Linked DNA regions of Homo sapiens: all the other regions are linked to region 2. The links are contacts of gene promoters, found by promoter capture Hi-C in blood cells and fetal thymus (Javierre and others, 2016). All regions are on one chromosome and are shown on one strand. Each heading gives the region's core, a stretch centred on a gene start or on the middle of the fragment in contact. The rest is flanking DNA. Distances are from core to core; before and after follow the strand shown.

Region 1 (6,616 bases), core at 1,527-4,026, 230 kb after region 2:
CAGAGCAAGACTCGGTCTAAAAAAAAACAGGAGTCATTGAACTATCTGTGATGAAAGGATAGTTCTTTAATCCATTGTGGTCTAGTACTTTTATAAATTATAAAATGAAATTAGTAGAATGAAAAACATTTTTTAAAAGCCCCAATTTTTAATTATGTTAATGGATATAAAATTAAATTTCAATAAATAGAATTGGAACACACATAAAACGGAAAGAGAAAAAATTATTTAAAAACTTTCACTGAAAATGTGAATTTAAGATTAATATAATTTCTATAACTCAACTTTTTGTCATTCTTCAATTATAACTGAAGATTATAATTGAAGTAGTGATTCTGTTTATTAGACCATTAGATATACTTTGAATAAACACAATGCATATTAATATTCAAAAGTTTTTAGGTCAAGCAAGGTGGCTCACACCTGTCATCTCAACACTTGTGGGGGCCGAGATGGGAGGATCACTTGAGACCAGGAGTTTGATACCAACCTGGGTAACACAAGGAGACTTGGTCTCTACAAAAAATAAATTTGCCAGGCGTGATGGCAGACACCTGAAGCTCCAGCTGCAGGCTGAGGTGAGAGGATTGCTTGAGCCCAGAAGTTCAAGGTTACAGTGAGCTACGATTGCACCACTGCACTCCAGCCTGGGCAATAAAATGAATGAGACCCTCTCTCTCAAAAAAAAAAAAAAAAAAAAAAAATTCTAAATGTCACAAATGAGCTGGTTTCTTTCTCGTTAAAATATGTAATCCAGGGTAGATTGACAATACTACTACTTTCATGGATTGATGTATATCTAAACTGTTTCCATGGTTTTTAAAAAATATTATTCATAAGATGAAACCAGATTTACAAAGGGATAATGGTCGGAATGGGAAAAAAAAGTTTTTAAACTAATTTCAGCATACTCAGAATATTCACTTTTAACTTTTATCCAAAATGAAGCAAGTGGTGTGGTATTTTCAAAATTCATTTTTAATCCTTCATTAGTTGCCAGTTAGAACAATGTATCATATAAGCTTACAATTAAATTTAAATCCTCTTTTGATGACATAAATGGATTCCAGATCTATGAATTTGCCGTATGTAGACATTCTTTTGTTGGAAAATAAAACTTAAAGCATTCTATCAAATTCACAATAGTTTGATTACTTCTTACAGATGTGCAATATCAAGACAATCACCAACTTCAATGACAATTGTTAAATTATGGAACATGTAATAACAATCTGTAGCAACTCTGGTCTTTCAAGCTTCTACCTTTTGCTTTTGCTCTTTGATTTTATCTGCCATTAAAAAACAAGTTGCATTCCTGCCTTGTATGAAAGAATTCTGAAGCTATCAGAACTGTCTTCAGATAATTGAAGATAGTAACTTCAGGTAACTCTAGCTGGCCAATTTATATCTTTATTTCATTTTATTATTTTATTTTGAGGCAGAGTTTCACTCTTTTTATCCAGGCTGGTGTGCAGTGGCACAATCTTGGCTCACTGCAACCTCTGCTTCCTGGGTTCAAGCGATTCTCCTGCCTTAGCCTCCCGAGTAGCAAGGAATACAGGTGTGTGCCACCACGCCCAGCTAATTTTTGTATTTTTAGTAGAGATGGGGTTTCACCATGTTGGCCAGGCTGGTCTCGAACCTCTGACCTCAGGTGATCCGCCTGCCTCGGCCTCCCAAAGTGCTGGGATTACAGGCATGAGCCACCGCACCCAGCCCAATGTATATCTTTATAAAGCTGGGACCAAACTGGCTTCTTGCAGCAATAATTAAATGTTCAAATATGCTCAACAGAACTTTCCCTCTAGATAATCATCATATCTCTAAATGTAATCACAGTTGTTTGTTTTCCAAACTATTACATAAAGAGAACAATCTCAAACTTATTGCATTAGCCTTTACACAAGTTATGTTCTTTACTAAGTCACTGAACACACTGTACAGTTCAGTTGATATGCTTTTTCTACCAAGACTTTTTCAAATAAAAAGATATAGTAGGTTGATTTACATTCTAGGGCAAGCTCCTTAATTTAGGTAATTATTCCGGAATGTTCTCTTACCACTGCTGCTATCCATCCAATTGGATTCCTACAAAGCTTCAAACCACATTAATTAACAAAGTAATTTATTCCACACTTTACTGTTGTTTAGAGTTAGCTGTTTGTTGGCAATGAAGTGGAAAAAAGAGAATCTTCCTTCATATTACTATCATATTCAAATAGCATATAAACTAATTGCCATATTAGTAATATCTATATATTAATGGTACATCAAACCAATTGCAAGAAAAGGTAATTTATTAGCTTTCTTTGTTCTATGGGTTGATCTTCCTGGATATTTCAAATTGTTGTGTGTTGGTAACTGGTAATTGAAGTACTTTCTTTGCCACACAGTCTCCCAACATTTCTAAGAATCTTTGATGCTGATTATTATTAAGACAATTATTGTCTATATATAAGATTATTGTCTTAATTGCATTTTTTAGTTTTAGCAATCTAAAGTTGCTTAAAGATGTCTAAAAAGCATTAACGTTTATTTGTGAAATAATGAATATCTGTGCTTTCAGTTTTTTAATTACTTAGGTTTTTCTTTCAAAGAGATCTTCTGGTTTTGGATTTATCTCTTTATGTTCTGTATTTAAATGTTGATTTAGTTTTGATTATTTTATTGCTTCATTTGCCAGAACTTCTCAGCAAATAACATGTTATGGTTTTCCCATGTCTTCATTTATGGCTAAAAAACTGAACTCAGTATATGAAGAATTATATTTATGAGTAAAACTAGAACAATCTATTGGTTTTCATTTATTCAGAATCGCTTTTATTGTCACCATTAGGTTTACTAATACTGTTGCATTCAGAAAAGGTAAGTCTTTTCTTGATAAAAAAAGCCAGTGAAGTTATTTTGCCATCCATAACATGGTGTTAAAGATAAATGAAACAAATTACCCCAAACCTTCACATCGATTGCATTCCCTGCCTGAAACTTTCTCTCCTTTCTCTTTAAACAGATCTAATCTTAACACTGGTCCCCCATAAAAATATTTCCAGTGCATATATCTGACAAAAGATTTATCCAAAATATTTAAAGAAATATTATAACTTCAATCATAAGAAGAAAAAATAATGAGTAAATAGATGTTCCATATCACATATTATCAGGGAAATGCAAATTAAAATAAATGTGATGTGGATGAGCTGTCTGAGCAGAGAAAAACACAAAACAAGTGAGACACCACTACACACCTTTTAGAATGGCCAAAATTCAGAACACTAACACCAAGTGCTGACAGGGATGTTGAGCAATAGGAACCCTTATTCACTGCTGGTGGGAATGCAAAATGGTACAGCCTCTCTGTAGGACAGTTTGGTGGTTTTTTACAAAACGAAACATTCTCTTAGCATTCAATCCAACAATTGTGCTCTTTGGTATTTACCCAAAGGAGTTGAAAGCTTAAATGGACACAAAAACCTACACATGGATATCTATAGCAATTTTATTCATAATTGCCAAAACTTGGAAGCAATCAACCAAGATGTCCTTCAGCAGGTGAATGGATAAACTGTTGTACACCCAGACAATGGAGTATTACTCGATGCTAAAAAGAAATGAGCTATCAAACTGTGAAAAGACATAGAGGAAACAAATGCATATTATCCAGTGAAAGAAACCAATGTGAAAAGGCTATATATACTTTATGATTCCAACTATATGGCGTTCTGAAAAAGGAAAAACTTACGGAGACAGTGAAAAGACCAGTGGTAGCCGGGGGTCAGTGGGGAGGACACGACGAAGAGGCAGAGCCAAGGGTTTTTAGGACAGTGTAGACTCTGCATGACTATAAAGATGGATACATGTCATTGTACCTTTGTTCAAACCCATAGATTGTACAGCACCAAGAGTGAACCCTAATGGAAACAATAGGCTTTGGGTGATAATGATGTGTCAGTGTAGGTTTATCAATTGTAACCAATGTGCCACTCTGCTGGGGGATGGTGATGAGGGAGGCATGGGGGAGGGGAGCACTGAGGATATATAAGTTATTTCTGTACCCTCCTCTCAATTTTGCTCAGAACCTAAAACTACTTTTAAAAACTAAAGTTTTTTTTTTTTTTCAGGAGATGAGGATCTCACTATGTTGCCCAGGCTGCAGTGCAGTGGCTATTCACAGGTGTGATCCCACTACTGATCAGCACAGGAGTTTTGACCTGCTCCACTTCTGACGCTCCTTAGGCAACTCTGGGTCCCAGTGACCCAGGAGGTCACTACATTTATGCTGAACTTAGTGCAAACACCTGATTGACATAGCTCACTACAACCCAGAACTTCTGGACTCAAGTGATCCTCCTGTCTTAGCCTCCTGAGTAGCTAGGTCTACAGGCATGTGCCACTGTGCCTGGCAAAAAGTCTTTTTTAAGTGCTAAGAAAAAAAAAAGAGCAAATGATTTGAACAGATATTTCACCAAAGATATGAGTGCCCAACAAGTACCTGAATCAAAACTTAATGTTATTGATCATCAGAGAAATGCAAATTAAAACCATCAAATTATTACTATATATCCATTAGAATGGCTAAAACTAAAAATATTATCAAATGAGGGCAAGAATATAGCAATTGGAACTTTCATTCATGGTGGTGAGAATATAAAATGGTACAACCACTTTGCAAAAAGCGTTTTGGCAGTTTTTTTTTTTTTTTTGAGACGGAATCTCGTTTTATCACCCAGACTGGAGTGCAGTGGTGTGATCTTGGCCCACTGCAACCTCTGCCTCCTGGGTTCAAGGGATTCTCCTGCCTCAGCCTCCTGAGTAGCTAGGATTACAGATGCCTGCCACCACACCCAGCTAATTTTTGCATTTTTAGTAGAGACGGGGTTTCACCATGTTAGCTAGGCTGGTCTCAAACTCCTGACCTCAAGTGATCCGCCCACCTCCGCCTCCTAAAGTGCTGGGATTACAGGTGTGAACTACCACGCCCAGCCCCCCAGCTCATTCTTAGCTAACTAGTGTGTGTGAAAAAGAGACAGTGTTAAAATATATATGGTTTAAACTGATAAGGAAATGATCAGTTATTGAGCTTATCCATGATTGCTAATTCAGGTAGAGATGGCTTATAAGTAAGTGTTCGGGGCTGCTTACGGGAAGAAAAAATGAAAGTTAGGGATTTCCTTTGGATGCTGGGAAACAAAACTCCAACTGGGTTCTGACAAACATACCATGTGCATTGTCCTGTGGAGACATGACAATGTAAACCCATAAACAAATCGATTACGTTTTGGTGACAACTATTGTGAAGAGAATGGCCATAGTATTTGCTGCTTCTCCTTTTAATAGGTAGCATCTCTCCTCTTACTCCCTTGAATCTGAGATAGCCTTATGAAGTGATATTGTGCCAGTTCTGAGACTAGGCCTCAAGAAGCCTCGAAGCTTCCAATCTTGCACTTTTTTGTTTGTTTTGATACAGGTGCTTGTTCTGTTGCCCAGCCTAGAGTGCAGTGGCACAATCATGGCTCACTACAGCCTCAATCTCATGGGCTCAAGCAATCCTCCCATCTCAGCCTCCCAAATAGCTGGGACTACAGGCATGCAGCACCACCCCACCCTCCCCACCCCCAGCTAATTTTTTAAAATTTTTTTGTAGAAGACCAGGCGTGGTGGCTCACACCTGTAATCCCAGCACTTTGGGAGGCTGAGGCAGGCAGATCACCTGAGGTGGGGAATTCAAGACCAGCCTGACCAACACGGAGAAACCCATCTCTACTAAAAATACAAAATTAGCTGGGCGTGGTGGCTCATGCCTGTAATCTCAGCTACTCAGGAGACTGAGGCAGGAGAATCGCTTGAACCCAAGAGGCAAAGGTTCTGGTGGGCTGAGATTGCGCCATTGCACTCCAGCCTGGGCAACAAGGGCGAAACTCCATCTCAAAAAATTTTTTTTTTTACAGATGGGCTCTCACTATGTTGCCCAGGCTGGTCTTGAACTCCTGGGCTCAAGAAATCCCCCAACCTTGGCCTCCCAAAGTGCTGGGATTACAGGTGTGAGTCATCATGCCCAGCCCCAATCTCATACTCTTGAAATCCTAAAGCCATGTGAAGAATCCAGGCCTAGCTTGCTGGATGATGAGAGACACAGTCCCCCTAATGCCCCAGGTGACAGTCACTCAATACCAGACATATGAGTGACACCATCTAGGACTAGCCAGCCTCAACAACCCAACTAGTGACCTCAGCTGCATGGGCAAGTCCAGCCAAGATAAGCTGAGCTGGATCCAGACTATAAGAATTACCTGGAAGAACGCAAACTAATGAAAGATTGTTGTTTTAAGCCAATGAGCTTTGGGGTGATTTGTTAATTGGCAATAGATAACTGATATTCAAGGATTCATCCAAAGTTCCCTTAAAAGATAGAACCCATTAAGTCATTTTAAACACTTATAAGCAAGTTATTAAATCCTTAAAAGAAACTGAAAGTTTCTAAGGTATACTGGGTTGGAAAAAGGAAAAGAAAAAGAAACTAAAAGTGAAGGCTGAAACTGACAAGTAAGGAGTTATTTCTCCCTGCAAATGTAATCAGAAAATAAGGTGGAGTGTCTCTGAATGCATAACTGGAACAAGG
Region 2 (5,997 bases), core at 2,214-4,713:
GATACTCTAAACACAAATAAAATTAAATATCCTTGCCTAAGCATGAAAGCAATAAAACTCATCTTAAAGCAATGCAGTCAGACAAAATCATTGCATCTGTAATAAGGGTAAGTACACAACTCCGGGAGTTAGCAGCCCTAAATATTTCTGTTCTAATGACACACAAGAGATACACAAAATCTATCATTCCTCCCTGATGTACGAAAAAATAAAGGGCAATTTCATAACACCTTTGGTGCTTTCTAACTTAATAGCTGGCCTTCAGGAAAAGCAAGTATAATTTTTGAGTGTTTATAAGAAAGCAAAGGAAAATGTTGCAAAAAATTACTTGGCTCAAAGGCCACAGAGAAAGCCGGAATCTGCAGGACTCACCAAGCTACACAGCTGTTTTAAAACCGAAAGTCAAACAGCTTTTAAAAGGTATTAAGTATTTTCTACAACAAAATCATCAAATATACATACTTCTTTTTATCCTGCAAATAGACATTTTATTTCTATTAGAAAAAAACTATAGTTACACAAACAATAACTAGACTGCTGTAATAAATATAACTAGCCACATAATACTAGTCAACGCTGGCTTTTTAAAAGATTACCAGAGAATTTCAAAATGATTCTGAATGATCAAGTGTGACTCGTATATTTTTTAGGTAGGCATTGATGTTAAGAATATGGCTTTCACAGAAATAGAATCCAATTTATCTTATTTCCATATATTAATCATGGCAACAAATAAAAATGATGACAAAAATCACTAAGATAGTTTCTTTAAATTTTTTTAAATTAAAAACCAAAACCTTAGGTAAATCTGACAATCCTCCCCCAAAATTGGTTTTCGAAAAAAAGTCTTCAGGTCATAGAAAAAATGTAGATGGCTTATAACCCTTAGAATTCCTTTTAGTTAATGAGAATCTCATTTTTGGAATTTCTTCAAACTTAACTGAAATGTTAATGAAAAAGAGAAATATTTAGATGTTGAGAAAAAAAGTTGTTCTAATTATTCTGCTTCACTATCTCATTTCAGCTCATCAAAGTTAAATAGCTAATAAACAACTGGTCTGTTTTGGCAGATTTTTTTTCTATTTTAAAATTCATTACTAAACAGATGAGGTTACTGCTAGTTAAAATTCTGAATCCAAATGCCATACATGCTGTTGTAAAAACTGTGCAGTTTTAAATATATTTTTACTTCTATATATTTTTGAATCTTTAGCCAAACTCCTCCAATAAAGTTTTAGTTTATGATGTTTTCTAAAATAAAAACATTTGTATTTTATGCTATAAAAATCAATAAATGTCTTCTAAAGTTAGGTGCTCCAAAATAAATGATTCAAAAGTTTTAATGAAAGCCCTCTTATAATTAAAGAAGGTGATTGGTAATGAGGAGGAAAATGGGAGGCATATTTACAATAAATCAAAAGCAGAATTGTGATTAATGGGCTCCACAATGATTATTAATGTTCTCCCTATAAAATATTGATGTTTGCATTAATTTAAAAGTACAGACTGGGTTTTTTGCTTTGTTAAATGAAAAATAATTTTTTTCCTATTTTAAAATGAGAATGACTATTTTAAAAACAGAAGACTATGTCCAAGATCTTTCCCTTTCCCCATTTCAAAATTATGAGTTTTCTTTTTGTCTTTCTGAATTCTTGAAATCCAGTGACATTGTCATAGCTCTGAGAACCAAAATAATAGAAACCACTAACTGTAGGAGACAGCCTTGATGCTTTTGATTATATTTTCCTAGAAAGATTTTTATGATATTTAATCTTAATAGCTTTTTTTTTTTAGGAACTCCTCTAATGCCAATAAATGAGAATCTAAATCTCAGGAGTTTAGGCAAATTTAGCCCATCAGCATAGCCTAAAAACAGGATAATTTAATAAAACCTAAATAATACATTAGTTTTTAAATAATATGTTATATACTTTAGATATATATATATATATCCTGTTAAGATTAGTGGGTACCAACCTCATATCTGTATTGGAAATAAGCAGGGTGCAGATTTTTAAAAGGAAAAGAGGCTACACTACTACTCAAAGTCTCCTCAACATTTGGATGCAGGAGAGAAATGGAAAGAAAGTCGAGTTCATCAGGGCTGGTGCCCATCCCATGGCACTACACTTCCTCCTATCCCCTGACCACTGCCAAGTTTGGTCAGGATAGGTGGCTTCGTGTCTCTACATAGTCAGATACCTGTGTATTTTGCTGGGAGAAGGGGAAAAAAAATAAACAAATAAAAATAAAACTCTCTATTCCCAAACTCCCTGCATCCTTTCAAAGTCACATTTTATTAATGGAAATTAAAATGATGAAGAAAGAAACCATTAGTAACCTAAATGATAAGTTTCCCCTTAAAGACACATTTTAACACCAACAAGAGGACTTTCTTCTTTCACTTTCTTCCTTCCTTCCTTTCCTCGTTTCTCTCTCTCCCTCTCTTTCCTTCTTTCTTTCTCCTTCCCTCTCTCTCTTCTCTTTTTCTTTCTAGTCAGAGTTTGTGACTTACTAATTATTTTTATTCTGTTTGAATAGGGTCCCTGTTATCTTTTGTGATTTTCTGAAATGAAGTTAAGATTTCCATTATTTATGAGAATAAAACAGGAGGTTGACACTTTACGCACAAAAAAGAATAACCAAAGGTTACAATGACATCAGTTTTAGTTTTTATTAAGGGCTGGCGTGTGGTGCAGGGGGTGGCGGTGGGAGCGGGGTGAGGCAGGTGTGAGGAATGAGTTTGTTTCTTCCAAGAGAAGGATTTGCTTTGGTCAGTGTTGCTGCAGTCCCAGTGAAGGGGCCTACTCTGCCAGCTCTTCTGGGTAGACTTCATAACAGAGTGGGCAGGCTCAATTCTCTAGGAAGCCTGATGATGGCAACTGCATCTCATGGAAGAATTCCACAAAGGGTTAAATTAGGGTGAGATTGTCAACAGGCTTCAAAAAGGCAGAGTTCCAGGGCCCATGCCTGAGGTCTCATGGGCCTCCTTCAGGTCCTCATCCCCACAGTCTGACACTTTTGGCCCTTCTCTTCTCCAGCTCCCCACCCCATTCTTCGGCCAGTCCTTCCTTTTTCCTCTAACCCTGCAAAAAATGAGCAGCGCTGTTGTTTTGTTCCAACTGACAAAACAGCTAAGAAACAGCAGAACATGACTGCCCTTTGCAAAATGGGCCATGTGATCCTCCTAGCTCAATTCAACACTTACAGTAAAAACGAATAGAAAGGGACCTGTTTATGAAACTCTCCTGCTTGCCTTTGGAATACTCTCATCCTCTCCCTTCTCAGCCTCCTAAATACCCAAGTGAATTTATATAATGAGCTTTATTTTATCACCCTGAAATTCTTCCTCAGTCCAAATTGCTAATGTGGCAGGTTCCAGCTGCCCAAATTCCCTAAACAACATTGCCTGTTCCATAAAAAGCATGCAATTACAAGCACAGCAGTCCTGCTCTGGTTCTTAGAACTATAAACTGACTACACAGCTCCCTGGCCCGGGAAGGCTATGAAACAGGCAACATGGACAATTTAAAGGTGTACAACATCCGAGGTTCCATTTCACCCTCAGGCAGCACGGAGTGGACAAGGTAAGGCCACCCTCCACTTTTCTTCTGGCTACTATATTGATTCTCTGGAAACTCTCTCTGCTCCAAAAGAAACCACCCAATCCCATGGAGAAAAGGTGACACTGAATTTGCACTGCTTTTTATGGTTGCATTTGTTTGACTAAGAGGGAGCAGAGTTCCATACAACAGACTGCTTTAGTTGGGTGACTTGAAAATAACACATACCAGATTAGTTCTCCAGATGCAGATTAGTACTAAGTTTGAATCCTTTCTTTTAAATTAATTAATGTAATCTCAATGTTTACATAATAGACATTGACTTTTATCTGGCACATACAGTATATGACTCTGCCTTTAGCAAAAATACCATTCAAGCTATCTTTAGCAGATGTGAATGTTTTATTTTTATTTTGGGGACTCCAAAGAGAGTCCATAACCTACCTTGGCATTGTCAGATCTCAAAAAAAGCTTTCTTCATACTTGCAATATAGTAATATCTAAGTACTTGGACATCTCTGCACAAAATATATGGGTCCACATCTCCCTGTTTTTCCATATACTATTCCCTCTGCAACCTTGTTCACATAGCAAACTCTAATTTATTCTTCAATAGGCAGCCTATGCCACCTTCCCTCAACTATCCCAGACCAGTAGTCATCACTGCCTCCTCTACCCCTTGTACATTTCTCTATGTGGTCTCACCAGAGAAGTACTATGTTTGCTCATATGTCTGGTCTCACCAGACAGTACCATGTTTGCTCAACTCAAAGTTCCTTGAGGAAATAATTGTATTTGTATCTCCAGTGCCTTGCATATTTTGTATCACATAATGAGTTCTATAAAAGAGAACTAAACTGATGTGGCTATGAAATGATTTACAGCTTTTAACTGGAATGAGCCTAGTACAAGACTCACTTAGATGCTGGTGGTTGATCCTAAGTTTCTCATGCTGTTATCTGCAATCATTTGCTCTTGCTCTACATTCAGAAGAGAAAGAAAAACTGGTGACACTAATCTGGCCTCTATATCATAATTAGACCAGGGGTAGGATCTGAGAAACTAGAAAATATTTAGCCTACCCCTAGTCACATCCTAAAAGACATCAATGTGGAACTCAAGGAACTCAGTGGATTTACCAACATTTATCATACCCTATATCCACCCATTATAACTACTTGAATTGTCATGGATGGGAACAGAAGATAGATTTTATTGTGGAGAACAGAATAAATCTAATAAAAGAAATAACTAGAGGAAAAGTTGGGGCTAGTTGACGTTTTTAAGTAGAGATGGGAAAAACATAAATGATGGTGGTCAGCACAGAAAGTTTTGAATATAAGGACTTTAGAAATCAATGTGGTCACTCTTTTCTAGTAATAGGCTGACCATGGACAAAAATAATAGGAACATTATTCCCTAGTTCCTTTGCAATGTACTGTACTGTTATTTAAGCATCCCAGCATCATGCTTGCTTTGATAAATACAAATCTAGCTCAATTGCCATGATTCTGCTTTGAGGCTCTCTCTTTTTTAATGATTTATATGTCATGCTCCCCAAAAGTCTTTCTAAAATTATACCAAAGGGAAAGAAGCAAAAAAAGGGGAGCTTAAATGTTCTGAGGAGCTGTTAGATGTGCCTGGTGCTTGCTATGCACTTCTTTTTGAGACAGAGTCTCCCTCTATTGCCCAGGCTGGAGTGCAGTGGCGTGATCTCAGCTCACTGCAACCTCCGCCTCCAGGGTTCAAGGGATCATCCCACCTCGGCCTCCTACTAGATGGAAATACAGGCCTGAGCCACCACAACCAGCTTGCTATGCACTTTATATACACCATCTATATGTATACCACCCTCCCAACAACTCCACTTGGTAGGAATAATTATTCTCATTTTAAATCAGTTTTAACCTAGGTGTCTCTGGTTCTAGATCTAGTATTTTTTCTACAAATAATACGGTTCCAATTTCTTTCTTTTCTTTCTTTTTGTAGAGATGGGGTCTCACTTTGTCACCCAGGCTGGGCTCAAACTCTTGGCTTCAAGCGATCTTCTCGCCTTGGTCTCCCAAAGTGCTGGGATTACAGGCTTGAACTACTGTACTCGACTGACTTTTCCTATTTCTAATGTCAGCATGAAGAACACAAGAAGTCAGCTTCAAAGGTAAGAGGTGTATCATTCATTCATTCAACATTTATTCCACAGCTACGATGAACCAGGCACTATAGTCTCTTTGAGGATATAAACATAAATAAGTTCTGGGACTCGACTTCAGCTTGCTCACAGTCTAATGGAAAAGAGACATAAAAACAACTTGGTTTATTCTATTTTCCCTAGGCTCTGTATTTGGATCCCCACACCTTGTCACTTTTTGCTGCCACTTTACAAACTTTCCATATCTTAAGAGTTACTCTATCTTTATTTACACATTAGTAAAAC
Region 3 (6,020 bases), core at 2,050-4,549, 240 kb after region 2:
CCAAACCCCCCCAAAAAAAATAGTCTCTGAGAATCTGTTGTATTTCTCTGGGATTGGTTGTGATGTCACCTTTGTCATTTCTGTATTACTTTTAACCTGGCTGTCTTTATTTTTAAAGTGGATTTCTTATAGGCAGCATATAGTTGGAGCTTGCCTTTTTTTTTTTTTTTTTTTTTTACCTAATCTGACCTCAGTGCCCCATCTCATTTCAACATCAAGCTATTTCAAATGCTTTATCCCTCAGTTTTCAGCACTTTTACTCTTCCTCTGCTATTTGCTCTTATCTTACTTTCTTCATGACATTTTACTTTTTTATATTCACTTTGAATATCTACTGTCCCTCTTAGCACAACTGCATATAATTATAGTTTATTAGGTATCTATTAATGTTATATTTACATTTTTAGGTGACTTTTTTTGGTTAAATCTTCTCTGGAGTATTTTCTCTTTGTTAAGGATGTTGTCTGGGCGTGGTGGCTCATGCTTGTAATCTTAGCACTTTGGGAGCCCGAGGTGGGTGGATCGCTTGAGGTCAGGAGTTCAAGACCAGCCTGGCCAACATGGCGAAACCCTGCCTTTACTAAAAATACAAAAATTAGCCGGGTGTTGTGGTAACTGCCTGTAATCCCAGGTACTCGGGAGGCTGAGGCAGGAGAATTGCTTGAACTCAGGAGGTGGTGGCTGCAGTTAGCTGAGATTGTGCAACTGCGCTCCAGCCTAGGTGACAAAGCAAGACTCCGTGTCAAACAAAAACAAAAACAAAAAACCCAAACATCTGTTGTGTAATTTTCCACAATAATTCTAACACAGTATCCTTAATACAATGTATGGGTATTAAATGATTGTCTGATGGAATACTATCTCACCTAATTGTCTTCACAGCTTCTTTAAGGTGTTCAGTTCCTCTTTGAAACCATACTTTATGGAAGTTTTGAGGATGCACTGGTAAATTTCCCAGTGATTCTTGGAAGTTTTATTTCCAGAGTTCAGCTACCAGGTTACATGGGTTTATCCATTTTATCTAGGTGGGTCACAGGTGGGTTAAGATGTTCCTCATTATCAGATTCTTAATCAAGGTCAGCAGATCCTTAATGATCCAGAAGTGTTGCCCCACTTCATTCAGTCTTGAAGCTACCTGAGTCTAATTATTGGCCTCACCCAAGGTGGGTGAACTGGGAGTGTAAGTTGTATGACTCTAAAGAATCAATGCTGAATAGGCCAGTGGCTAATAAGTATCGTTGATTAGATTATCTCATGTCTGAAAATCTGAAGTGTTTACTATTAAATGTGTGGGCCAGGATTACAAGCTTGTAATCCCAGCACTTTGGGAGGCCAAGGTGGACAGATTGCTTGAGCCCAGCAGTTGGAGACCAGCATGGGCAACATGGCAAACCCTATCTCTCCAAAAAATACAAACAACAACAAAAAAATCAGCCAGGTATGGTAGTATGCTTCTGTAGTCCCAGCTACTTAGGAGGCTGAGTCTTTAGTCTTCCTTAGTTGACATGAAAAAAAATCAAGTCATAAAGTATTCCTTCTAATATAATCTTCCTAGAACACATCATTTGAGCAATATTATTATTGTAGGACTTTTTTCTTAGGTCAGCTAAAGACACACAACCACAAAAAATTAGGCTCACAGACAATTTGAAGGGTGAGGAAGGACAGGGTTTATTGGGTGAAAAGGAAAAAACTCAGCAAAGCAAGAGAGGTTCCTGTTAACAGGCCCACATCTCACAGATTGAATCCCCAGGTTACCACACCAGATCACAGAGGCCAGGCTCCTTTTCCCTGCAAACAGCGTGAACTTCACGAAGCTCCACCCCATTTTCCCAGTGCACAAGCTGGTCGGAGTTTCTCTGGGGACCCCTGTATCACTATATCTCTAGAGTTCCTGATGGTGTGTCTGTTACTTTTCTCATTAATTCGACCTTAGTAACGGTTGAAATTCTTTTTACATATCTAAAGTTAATATACTATCTTGATTTATCTTGGTGCTTCCCTTTCATCTCCCTTGTCTCTAGATTTTGGAGTGCCCCAAGAATCAGTCCTTGGACTGCTCCACTTTTCTGTTCCATTCTCTAGGACAGGAATCTCGTCCAGTCCCATGGCATTAAATACCATCTGTGTGATGATGACTTCCAAATCCATCTGTGGTCAAGACCTGTCCCTTGACCTCTAGACTTACATATCCAACTGCCTACTTGACATGTGTAGTAGGTATCCTTAACTTGGTATGTGTCTAACTGTGCTTCTGATGGTCCTCCACAAACCAGCTTCTCCTGCAGCCTGCTCTCTCAGTTAATGCCAGTTCTATTCTTCTAGGTGCTTGGGCCAAAAACCTTGGTACCACTCTTGACTCCTCTCTCTGTCTCATACCCAACATCTGGTCTATTAGCGAATCTTGTTAGCTCTATCTCCAAAATGTATCTAGATTTGACCATTTGTCACCATTCCCTCTGCCGCTATCCTAGTCCAAATCATCATTCTTGCCTGTTTTGTTGAAATAACTTCCTAACTGGTCTCCCAGCTGCTTCCTTTGCTTTGCTGCAGTCTGTTTGTAGCGTAGCAGCCAGAGTAACCTACTGTTAACACTTCCCTTGGTTCTTGTAATTTTTCTGTTGAAAATCCTCAAACAGCTTCCTATCTCACTCAGAAACACTCTAGGCCTACAACTACCTACATGATTTGGTCCTGCATTACCTCTCTGCTCTCATGCCCTACTGTCTTTTCCTTGTTCATGTATTCTGGCTACATGGCCTCTTTTTTGCTTTTGAACATGTCCTTCCTTCCATCTCAGGGCTTTTATACTTGCTGTTTGTCTGCATAGAACACTCTTTCTCACAGTATCAGTAAAGCTAGCTCTCTTACTTCCTTCAGGTTTTTACTCAATGAAGGCTTCCCTGACCAGCTTATTCATCTTATTTTCCTATCTCCTGTATTGGAATGTAAGATCCATGAAAGTCGGGATTTTTATCTTGTTTTGTGTACTACAGAATCATTAGGATCTACACATAGTAGGTGCTCACACATTTTAAAATGGATAAATGATTCTGATTCTCATAATAACTTTTTTTTTTTTTTTTTTTTTTTTTGAGACAGGGTCTTGCCCTGTCACCCAAACTGGAATGCAGTGACCTGATCTCGGCTCACTACAACCTTCGCCTCCCAGGTTCAAGAGATTCTCCTGCCTCAGCCTCCTGAGTAGCTGGGACTACAGATGCATACCACCATGCCTGGCTACTTTTTAAATTTTTTGTAGAGATGTGGTTTCACCATGTTGCCCAGGCTGGTCTCGAACTCCTGGGCTCAACTGATCTGCCCACCTTGGCCTACCAGAGTGCTGGAATTACAGGGATGAGCCACTGTGCCCAGCCCCCACGATTTTTAAAAATTAGCTGGGCATGGTGGTGCATGCCTGTAGTCCTACCTACTCAGAAGACTGAGATGGGAGGATCACTTGAGCCCAGGAGCTTGAGGGTGCAGTGAGCTATGATTGTGTCATTACACTCCATCCTGGGTGTTAGAGCAAGACCGTGACTCTAAGAAAGAAAGGAGGAGAGAAAAAGAGAGGGGGTCGGGGGAGGGAGGCAGGCAGGCAGGCAGGCAGGAGAAAATAATTCTAAATTTCTGAAATATAGGGCAATCTTACAAATGCATGAATAATAGTACCACTTTATTTAAGAAACTACTTTAATATTTTCCCATGGAGACAACAAAAATTAGCTACTTCCATCAGTAGGAAACAGATTTGATTACCTAGCTTAGTATGAACCAGGAGGTAAAGTTTTCTGGGTTAAGAGCTGTAGACCAGTGTTCCAGATGTCACTGAGTCATTGTGTAATCTAAGAAGTGTAACAATATAACTTGGTTTGCCAGGAGCAATCTCAATTTAACTCTTGTATTAATTAATAGTGTCTGCAAGGTTCCCAATCTGGATGATAGAATAAGGTCATCGTAAAATTAAGGTGCTTGCTTTTGGCTAGTGATTGTAGTGCACATTAAAATTCATGCATGATAAGATATGTGTAAATGCTATTTGACATTTATTGAGCATATTTTAGAACTTGACTTTGTTCAGTTTAGGGCTATCAGAGTCTCAAACATTTTCAGTCTTGAGTAGTAAATATAATTGAACAGTGTATGCTGAATGACACTTTTAATGGACAGTTCTTAGCATTCTGAAGGTCTCATACTTCATTGAGAGTCTGATAAAAGTTTTGAATCCACTGCCCAGAAAAACACCTATTCAAAATTTTTACAAATAATTTCAAGAGGTTAATGACTTCCCAAACCCCTTCTAGAACCAGAATCTGTAAGGAACTTAAATCAACAAGCAAAAATAAGTAATTCCATTAAAAAGTGGGCTAGGGAACATGAACAGACACTTCTCAAAAGAAGACATACAAGCAGCCAACAAACATATGAAAAAATGCTCAACATCACTAATCATCAGAGAAATGCAAATTTAAAAAAATCACAGTGTGATACCAGCTGATACTAGTTAGAATGGCTATTATTAAAAATAGATAAAAATAATAAATGTTGGCAAGGCTGCAAAGAAAAGCAAATGCTTACATACTATTGGTGGGAATGTAAATTAGTTCAGCCACTGTGGAAAGCAATTTGGAGATTTCTCAAAGAACTAAAAACAGAACTCCCATTCGACCCACCAATCCCATTACTAGGTAAATACCCAAAGGAATAGAAACTGTTCCACCAAAAAGACACATGTAATTGTATGTTCACTGTAGCACTACTCACAACAGCAAAGACATGGAATCAATCCAGGTGCCTGTCAATGGTGAACTGGATAAAGAAAATGTGGTACACATACACCATGGAATACTATACAGACATAAAAAAAGAACAAAATCATGTCCTTTGCAGCAGCACAGATGCAGCTGGAAGCCATTATCCTAAGCGAATTAACACAGAAACAGAAAACCAAATACCACACGTTCTCACGTGTAAGTGGGAGCCAAACACTGGGTACACACGGACACAAAGATGGAAACAAAAAACACTGGGGACAACAGACAGGAGGGAAAGAGGTGAGAGAAAGCTGAAGAACTACCTATTGGGCACTACCTCACTGCCTGGGTGATGGGTTCAATCATACTCCAAACCTCAGCATCACACAATATACCCTTGTGTACCCTCTGAAGCTAAAAATTGAAATAAAACAACAAAAAAAAAATCCTTATCTTAGGGTCTCCTAGGAAACCACATCTAAGACAGCATCTATTAAAATACATACATACATATATACATAGTGAAAGGCAAGCTTAGATAAAAAAATTTACAAAGCATATAGCTCATATAGCACTTTGGTCTCTAAGTTTTATACCTTAATAAGACAACCAATTTGCTTTTTAAAAAATAGGCAAAATATTTCTACAGATACTTAACTGAAAACAAACAAAAACCAAAACCCAAACATATGAATGGCCAATAAGCACATGAAAAGATGTTCAACATCTAGGTAGGTTAACCTCTACCTCTATGAATAGTCCTACCTCATATTATACCCAATTCCCTATGGAGAACACAGAAATAGAGAACACTTCTATTTTATATTTTAAATACTTCTGCATAGTTTAAAAATACTTTTTAAAAATGTGTGTTTTGGCCAGGCATGGTGGCTCACACCTGTAATCCCAGCACTTTGGGAGCCCAAGGCAGTGGGATCACTTGAAGTCTGGAGTTTGAGACCAGCCTGGCCAACATGGTGAAACCCCGTCTCTACTAAAAATACAAAAAACAGCCAGGCATGGTGATGTGCACCTGTAGTCCCAGTTACTTGGGAGGCTGAGGCACTAGAATCGCTTGAATCCGGGAGGCGGAGGTTGCAGTGAGCCGAGATGGCACCACTGCACTCCAGCCTGGGCGACACAGCAAGACTCTGTCTCAGAAAAATAAAAAATAAAAATAAAAATAAAATGTGTTTTATACCTTTTAATAAAAACTTATTTAAGAAGAAGTTATATACCCCCAGTTATTAAATTCATAATGAGTCC
Region 4 (6,340 bases), core at 3,331-5,830, 200 kb after region 2:
AGCAGGAGAATCACTTGAACCCGGGAGGCAGAGGTTGCAGTGAGCTGAGATCATGCCACTGCACTCCAGCTTGGGCAACAGAGTGAGATTCCATCTTAAAATAAAATTAAATTAAATTAAAAAGTCATTTCAAGGATTTCTGGAAAAAATTGTAAAGCCATTTCCAGAAAATTACCAGAATTGGTAAAATTTTGTCCCATTCCTTACCTGCTGGGCTGGCATCGTGGGTGTGACTTGTGCAGGAGCACAGGACTCCACACTCAGAAGAGCTGCATGCTTGGCTGAATACTCTGCTAATGCTGTCTCACAGTTATTAATTTTTGAACAAGAAGCTCTGCATTTTTATTCTGCACTGGCCCCAACAAATTATGCAGCCAGTGCTGCCTACACATGCTATATTTAGGATCCCAGATGGTGAGAATTAATGCTCAGACTGGTGACCCTGAATCTGTAGGTTTCTGAGTGATCCAGGATTCAATTATAATTATCATTTTTTTCATTCATTCAACATGTTTATTGAGTGCTGTTCTAGGTATCGGGGATAAAACATTGAATCAACCAGCCCTGTCTTCACAGAATTTACATCGTGCCACACTTCCTGTGTCTGCCCAACCAACAAATGACATTCATGTATCAGCTATTAATAGGACATCAGCTACAGACACACATACCAGCGTGTGTCACAAATAGTCTATGTCGGGGATCACATGCAAATCCCAGCAGCCAACAGGAACTCCAGGCATCCCAATCTCTTTCTCTCAAGAAAGCAAATCAGAATGCAAGTGAGTAAGAGTGACATTAGAGAGCTACATCTTAAACCCATTCTGATTTGTAAAGATAAAACAATCTTTCACAAACTTTGCTCTTTTGGTTTTTATTCTAGCCTCTAAAGTGGCAAAAAGATGCATTTAAGAAAGGTTTTCAACCGTGAAGACTGAAATCAAAGAGCAAACTGAGTCTCTGGTTAACATTTCTCAGGGCCTCTGCAAATACTGTGAGAAATGCCACTTTGTGACAGCTTCAGCCAAGCACCAGGCTCATCCTTCAAGAGATCCACTTAACACTGTGTTGCTCAGAGGAGTGGAAAGATGTCAAATTGCTCATCTGCTTGAAAAACCCAAATAGGTGGATTTCATACAGCAGGGATCCTGCCCTGGGAAGGCAACAGTCCTTTTTCTCATTTGATTGCTTTATAGAAATCTGTGCCCTTACCCCCCTTAGCCCCAACTCAAACCAGATTCTTTGCTTCCAGCAAGCCCAGCTGAAGTAAACATGTTAACAACACACATTTGCCTCCCTGAGACAGATAATATCATAGTTCAGCTCCATAAAAGCCTGTTGCTGTAGGCTTCTAAGGCCCTAGTTCTCAAACTTAGCCTGCATCCAAATCACCTGGAGTGCTTGTTAAAATGCAGATCACAGGACCCTACCTTGGAGTTTCTAACTCAGTAGGTCTTGGGTGGGTCCCGAAAATTTGCTTTTCTAGTAAATCCCAGGTGGTGGCTCCTGATGGTCTTTGAGAACTACTGCTCTAGGGCATTGCCTTGGATCCTGAAGGGCTGCATGAGCAATTCTGTCCTCAATGCAGAGAATGTCCCCAAACAAACCTTAATTCTCTTTGGCTTCTGACCACCCTATCTCATTTTCCTCAATTCTCATTCATTCCTCAACTCCCTTTAGCTGGCCTCCTGCCCTGCACTCTATTGAAAATGCTCTCAGTGAAGTTGAAGGTGACAAATTTGCTGCCAAATTTAATGGGCAGGGGACATCATCATTTGGGTATCTGATATGATTTGGGTCTGTGTCCCTGTCCAAATCTCATATCGAATTCTAATACTCAACATTGGAAGGGGGGCCTGATGGGAGGTGATTGAATCATGAGGGCAGATTTCCCCCTTGCTGTTCCCATGAGTAAGTTCTCACAAGGTCTGGTTGTTTATAAAAGTGTGTAGCAGTCGGGCGCAGTGACTCATGCCTGTAATGCCAGCATTTTGGGAGGCCGAGGCAGGTGGATCACCTGAGGTCAGGAGTTCGAGACCAGCCAGGCCAACATGGTGAAACGCCGTCTCTACTAAAAATACAAAAATTAGCTGGGTGTGTGCCTGTATTCCCAGCTACTTGGGAAGCTGAAGCAGGAGAATTGCTTGAACCAGGGTGTCGGAGCTTGCAGTGAGCCGAGATCGCGCCACTGCACTCCAGCCTGGCGATAGACTGAGACTCTGTCTCAAAAAAACAAACAAACAAACAAACAAAAACAAAAAAAAAGTGTGTAGCACCTCCCCTTTCTCTATCTCCTCCTCCTTCTCTGGCCATGAAAGACATGCCTGCTTCTCCTTCACCTTCCACCATGATTGTAAGCTTCCTGAGGCCTCCCCAGCCATGCTTCCTGTACATCCTGGGGACCATGAGTCAATTAAACCTCTTTTTCTTTATAAAGTACCCAGTCTCGGCTGGGTGCGGTGGCTCATGCCTGTCATCTCAGCACTTTGGGAGGCCGAGGTGGGTGGATCACCTGAGGTCAGGAGTTCAAGACCAGCCTGGTCAACATGGTGAGACCCTGTCTCTACTAAAAATACAAAAATTAGCTGGGCATGGTGGCGCACGCCTGTAGTCCCAGCTGCTCTGGAGGCTGAGACACAAGAATTGCTTGAACCCGAGTGGTGGAGGCTGCAGTGAGCCAAGATTGTGCCACTGCACTCCAGCCTCAGTGATAGAGTGAGACTCTGTCTCTAAATAAATAAATAACCCAGTCTCAGGTTGTTCTTTATGGCAGTGCGAGAACAGACTAATACAGTATCTCACCAGCCAGTTTAGCCACCAGTCTACATTGAACTCACTGTTTTCTCAAGCACTCTTCATCATGTTTTTGGGCCTGACAAGCTTCATGTGTTCCCAGCAGTATTTCTGTTATTTGCAGCAACTGCCACTCCCTACTAAGTGTAGTTCAGATGGGATTTTCAATCATAGCACCCTATGGCACTGGCCACAGGGATGGGCCTGTATCCCAGTACTGATCATCTACTCCCCTATCTCTTGGGTCACCATGATTGGCCCAGTGGCAATCAATGACACACACCAAACCAGTCAGAGCCCTTCTCTAAAATTTTATACGGATTTCATTACATCTAAGACTCCATTACAGTAAGAAACACTGTTATTTTATCCATCACTAAGAAATAATACTGCCAATTGGAACAACAAAAAAGGAAGATGACATCTATTAAAAGACGCTTCCGATTTCAGAAAGGTTAAAATTGGGTGGGGCTAAACCTTGCACAGTGAAATTCAAACTAAGATGCTGGGAGAAAAAAGCTCTCTCTCTGGAGTCCCTGAGCTAGGAAGACGTAAATGTCAAGTTGCAACAATACCACCTTCTCTCCATTGCCTGGAGGAAGCAAGTCTGCAATAGGAAAGAATGAGGCCAACACACCAAGAGAAGTGAAAATTTTAAAAAGAGAGAAATGAAGCGGGTAGAGTAGCTCTGTTTCTTCACATCAGTCCTATATCCTTAAATTATTTGAATTCAGTTTCTGTCACTTGCAATCATGGAAGTCCTGATAAATATAATCCCTTTCCCCATAAGCATCCCCAATATTCCCCAAAGTAAATGACTCATTACCCATCAAATTATCCAAATCATACTTAACTCCTTCCTCCTCCTCAACCCTTCTACACTGAACTAATGAGGAAATGTGTTTTCTTCAACTTCCTAAATATCTAATCCTTCCATTTCTCTCTATCTGCACTCAATCTCTCACCCCATCCACCATCCCCCTTTGCAGACCCCTGGGACGGCCTCCTAACTGAGTCTCCTGGTTCTAGTCTTCTCCTATCTAACTCTGGGTCCACGCTGCAGTCAGAGTGATCTTTCCAATAAGAACATCCCTGCCCAAAACACTTTGGGGTCTTCTCATTGTCCTTTCACAGTATGGCCCAGCCTATCTCCCCAGCTTTCTCCAGTTTTTCGAATATTTTTCTGCTTTAGACTTTTTTTTTTTGAGACTGGGTCTCACTCTGTCACCCAGGATGGAGTGCAGTGGTGCAATCACAGCTCAGTGCACTCCCCACCTCCCGGTCTTAAACAATCCTCCCACTTCAGCCTCCTGAGTGGCTGGAACAACAGGTGCGCCACCACACCCAGCTACTTTTTTTTATTTTTCCTAGAGACAGGTTTCACCATGTTGCTCAGGCTTTCTTTAGACTTTTACTTTTCCCTGACTGGAACGTTCCTCCTCGTTCACCTGTGATTTATTCATTTTTGATCCCAGCTTAAACATCACATCATCTAAGCCCAGGTGGACTCCTCTAGTTTCACTGACCTCTTTCACAGTTTCTATGGCATCTTCCTCATTATACTTTCAAAAATCAGCTGTTTACTGTAGCTTTTTATATTTGAAGACATAATAAACTCTTGTTTACACCCAAATCTTTAGAATAATAAACCATATCAGTGAGATGTTAGTAAGAGACAAATAGTCCTTCTCTGGGGGTACTTGGTGGGCTAACTATCTGGACTAAAATGGTAACTATCTCCAGACTCACAGCCAGTCCCAGAGGATGTGCCTCTGCCTTGTGGAAGATGTGGCAGAGAGTGGGTTCTTAGTAACTGCACTAGTTCCCAAGGGCTGCTATAACAAAGTACCACAGATTGAGTGGCTTCAACAACAGAAAAATACTTTGTCATAGTCCCGGAGGCTAGAAGTCTGAGATCGAGTTGTTGGCAGCATTGATTTCTTCTGAGTTCTCTCTCCTTGGTTTGCAGATGGCTGCCTTCTCCCGTGTCCTCATCTCCCCTTCTTATAAGGACACCAGTCATGTTGCATCAGGGCCCACCCCAATGACCTCATTTAACCTTAATACCAATTTAAAGACCCTGATATGGCTCAGCTGTGTCCCCACCCAAATCTCATCTTGAATTGTAGCTCCCATAATTCCCACCTGTTGTGAGACAGGCCCCATGGGAGATACTTGAATCATGGGGGGAGTTTCCCCCATACTGTTCTCATGGTATTGAATAAGTCTCACGAGATCTGGTGGTTTTATAAGGGGGAACCCCTTTCACTTGGTTCTGATTCTGTCTTGTCTGCTGTGATGTAAGATGTGCCTTTCGCCTTCCTCCGTGATTGTGAGGCCTTCCCCAGCCATGTGGAACTGTGAGTCCATTAAACCTCTTTTTCTTTATAAATTACCCAGTCTTAGGTATGTCTTTATCAGCAGCATAAAAATGGACTAATACAGACCCCACCTCTAAATACAGTCACATTCTGAGGTACTGGGTGTTGAGTTAGGACTTCAAGATATGACTTTGAGAGCAGCAGGAGAACACAATTCAGCCCATTACAGTAATGAATGAATGAACCTGTGAAGATTTCACATGCCACCACTTGAAAGAGTCAGCTCTCAAGAGTCACCATCACCTCCGGGAGAAGATGGGGCCAGGCGGTCATAAACCCTCATCCACTGCAGTGGGTTAAATTGTGGCATAAAAAGACATAAAAAGATATGTCCATGCCCTAACACCTTTCACCTGAGAATATGACCTAACATCCTGGTTAGAGTGGGCCCTAAATCCAGTGGTAAGTATCACCATAAAAGAGACATGACCAGGCATAGTAGCTCACACCTGTAACCCCAGCACTTTGGGAGGCCAAGGCAGGAGGATTGCTTTAGCCCAGGAGTTCAAAATGAGCCTGGGTAACATAGTGAGACCCCCAATCTCTACTAAAAATTGAAAATTCAGCCAGGCGTTGTGGCACATGCCTGTGGTCCTAGCTACTTGGGGGGCTGAGGCAGGAGGATTGTCTGAGCCTTGGAAGTCAAGGCTACAGTAAGCCATGATAGGGCCACTGCACTCCAGCCTGGGCAACAGAGCACCCTGACTCAAAAAAAAAAAAGAAAAGAAAAGAAAAAAAAAAAACTTGAAGAGAAGGGAGAAGACACATGGAGAAGGGGCTGTGCAGATGGAGGTAGAGATCAGAGGGATGCGCCTATGAGCTAAGGAACGCCAAGGATGGCGGCAGCCTCCAGAAGACAGGAGCCAGACGTGGAACGGACTCTCCCTGCACCCTGCAGAGGAAGCCAGTCCTGCCGACGCCTTGAGTTTGGACTTTTGGCCTCAGAACTGTGAGACAATAAATTTCCGGGGTTTTGGGCCACCGGTTTGTGGTAATTTGTTACAGCAGTCACAGAAACCTAGCACCTCTACTTCCATTAAAGGGAAGGGAGACCGTGTTCAGGAGATCTGACCTAGGATAGAGAAAGCGAGACACTTCAAAGCTTCATCAGGACAGGTCTGGTTGCTTGAAAAATAGTCCAGTTACCAGCCTAGCCAATCTGAAGA

The links. The method cuts DNA at HindIII sites, captures the fragments that hold promoters and counts their contacts. A CHiCAGO score of 5 or more calls a contact.
Region 1: a fragment that was not itself captured here is called in contact with the fragment with the promoter of CRADD-AS1 in region 2 in 2 of 17 cell types (megakaryocytes and erythroblasts); the score reaches 8.1 in megakaryocytes.
Region 3: a fragment that was not itself captured here is called in contact with the fragment with the promoter of CRADD-AS1 in region 2 in 1 of 17 cell types (megakaryocytes); the score reaches 5.5 in megakaryocytes.
Region 4: a contact is called between a fragment that was not itself captured here and the fragment with the promoter of CRADD-AS1 in region 2, in 1 of 17 cell types (megakaryocytes). The highest score is 5.9, in megakaryocytes.

The regions. Positions count from the first base shown.
Region 1 is chr12:93,507,272-93,513,887 of GRCh38, reverse strand. It overlaps MRPL42 (mitochondrial ribosomal protein L42), which reads right to left. Exons shown (of 6, transcript NM_014050.4): 6 at 1-6,616. It also overlaps the pseudogene RN7SL737P. Among named protein-coding and RNA genes, the nearest start is that of MRPL42, 43 kb to the right of the region's middle. The HindIII fragment of the contact is 1,356 bases long and covers 2,099-3,454 here.
Region 2 is chr12:93,735,289-93,741,285 of GRCh38, reverse strand. It overlaps CRADD-AS1 (CRADD antisense RNA 1), which reads left to right and starts at 3,463. Exons shown (of 3, transcript NR_110092.1): 1 at 3,463-3,587; 2 at 5,553-5,721. All of the region lies in intron 2 of CRADD (CARD and death domain containing adaptor protein), which reads right to left. The HindIII fragment of the contact is 4,271 bases long and covers 1-4,036 here.
Region 3 is chr12:93,490,801-93,496,820 of GRCh38, reverse strand. All of the region lies in intron 5 of MRPL42 (mitochondrial ribosomal protein L42), which reads right to left. Among named protein-coding and RNA genes, the nearest start is that of MRPL42, 26 kb to the right of the region's middle. The HindIII fragment of the contact is 3,980 bases long and covers 1,310-5,289 here.
Region 4 is chr12:93,531,259-93,537,598 of GRCh38, reverse strand. LOC124902985 (a long non-coding RNA gene) reads left to right here. Exons shown (of 2, transcript XR_007063408.1): 1 at 1-782; 2 at 884-4,426. Among named protein-coding and RNA genes, the nearest start is that of SOCS2-AS1, 37 kb to the left of the region's middle. The HindIII fragment of the contact is 3,396 bases long and covers 2,883-6,278 here.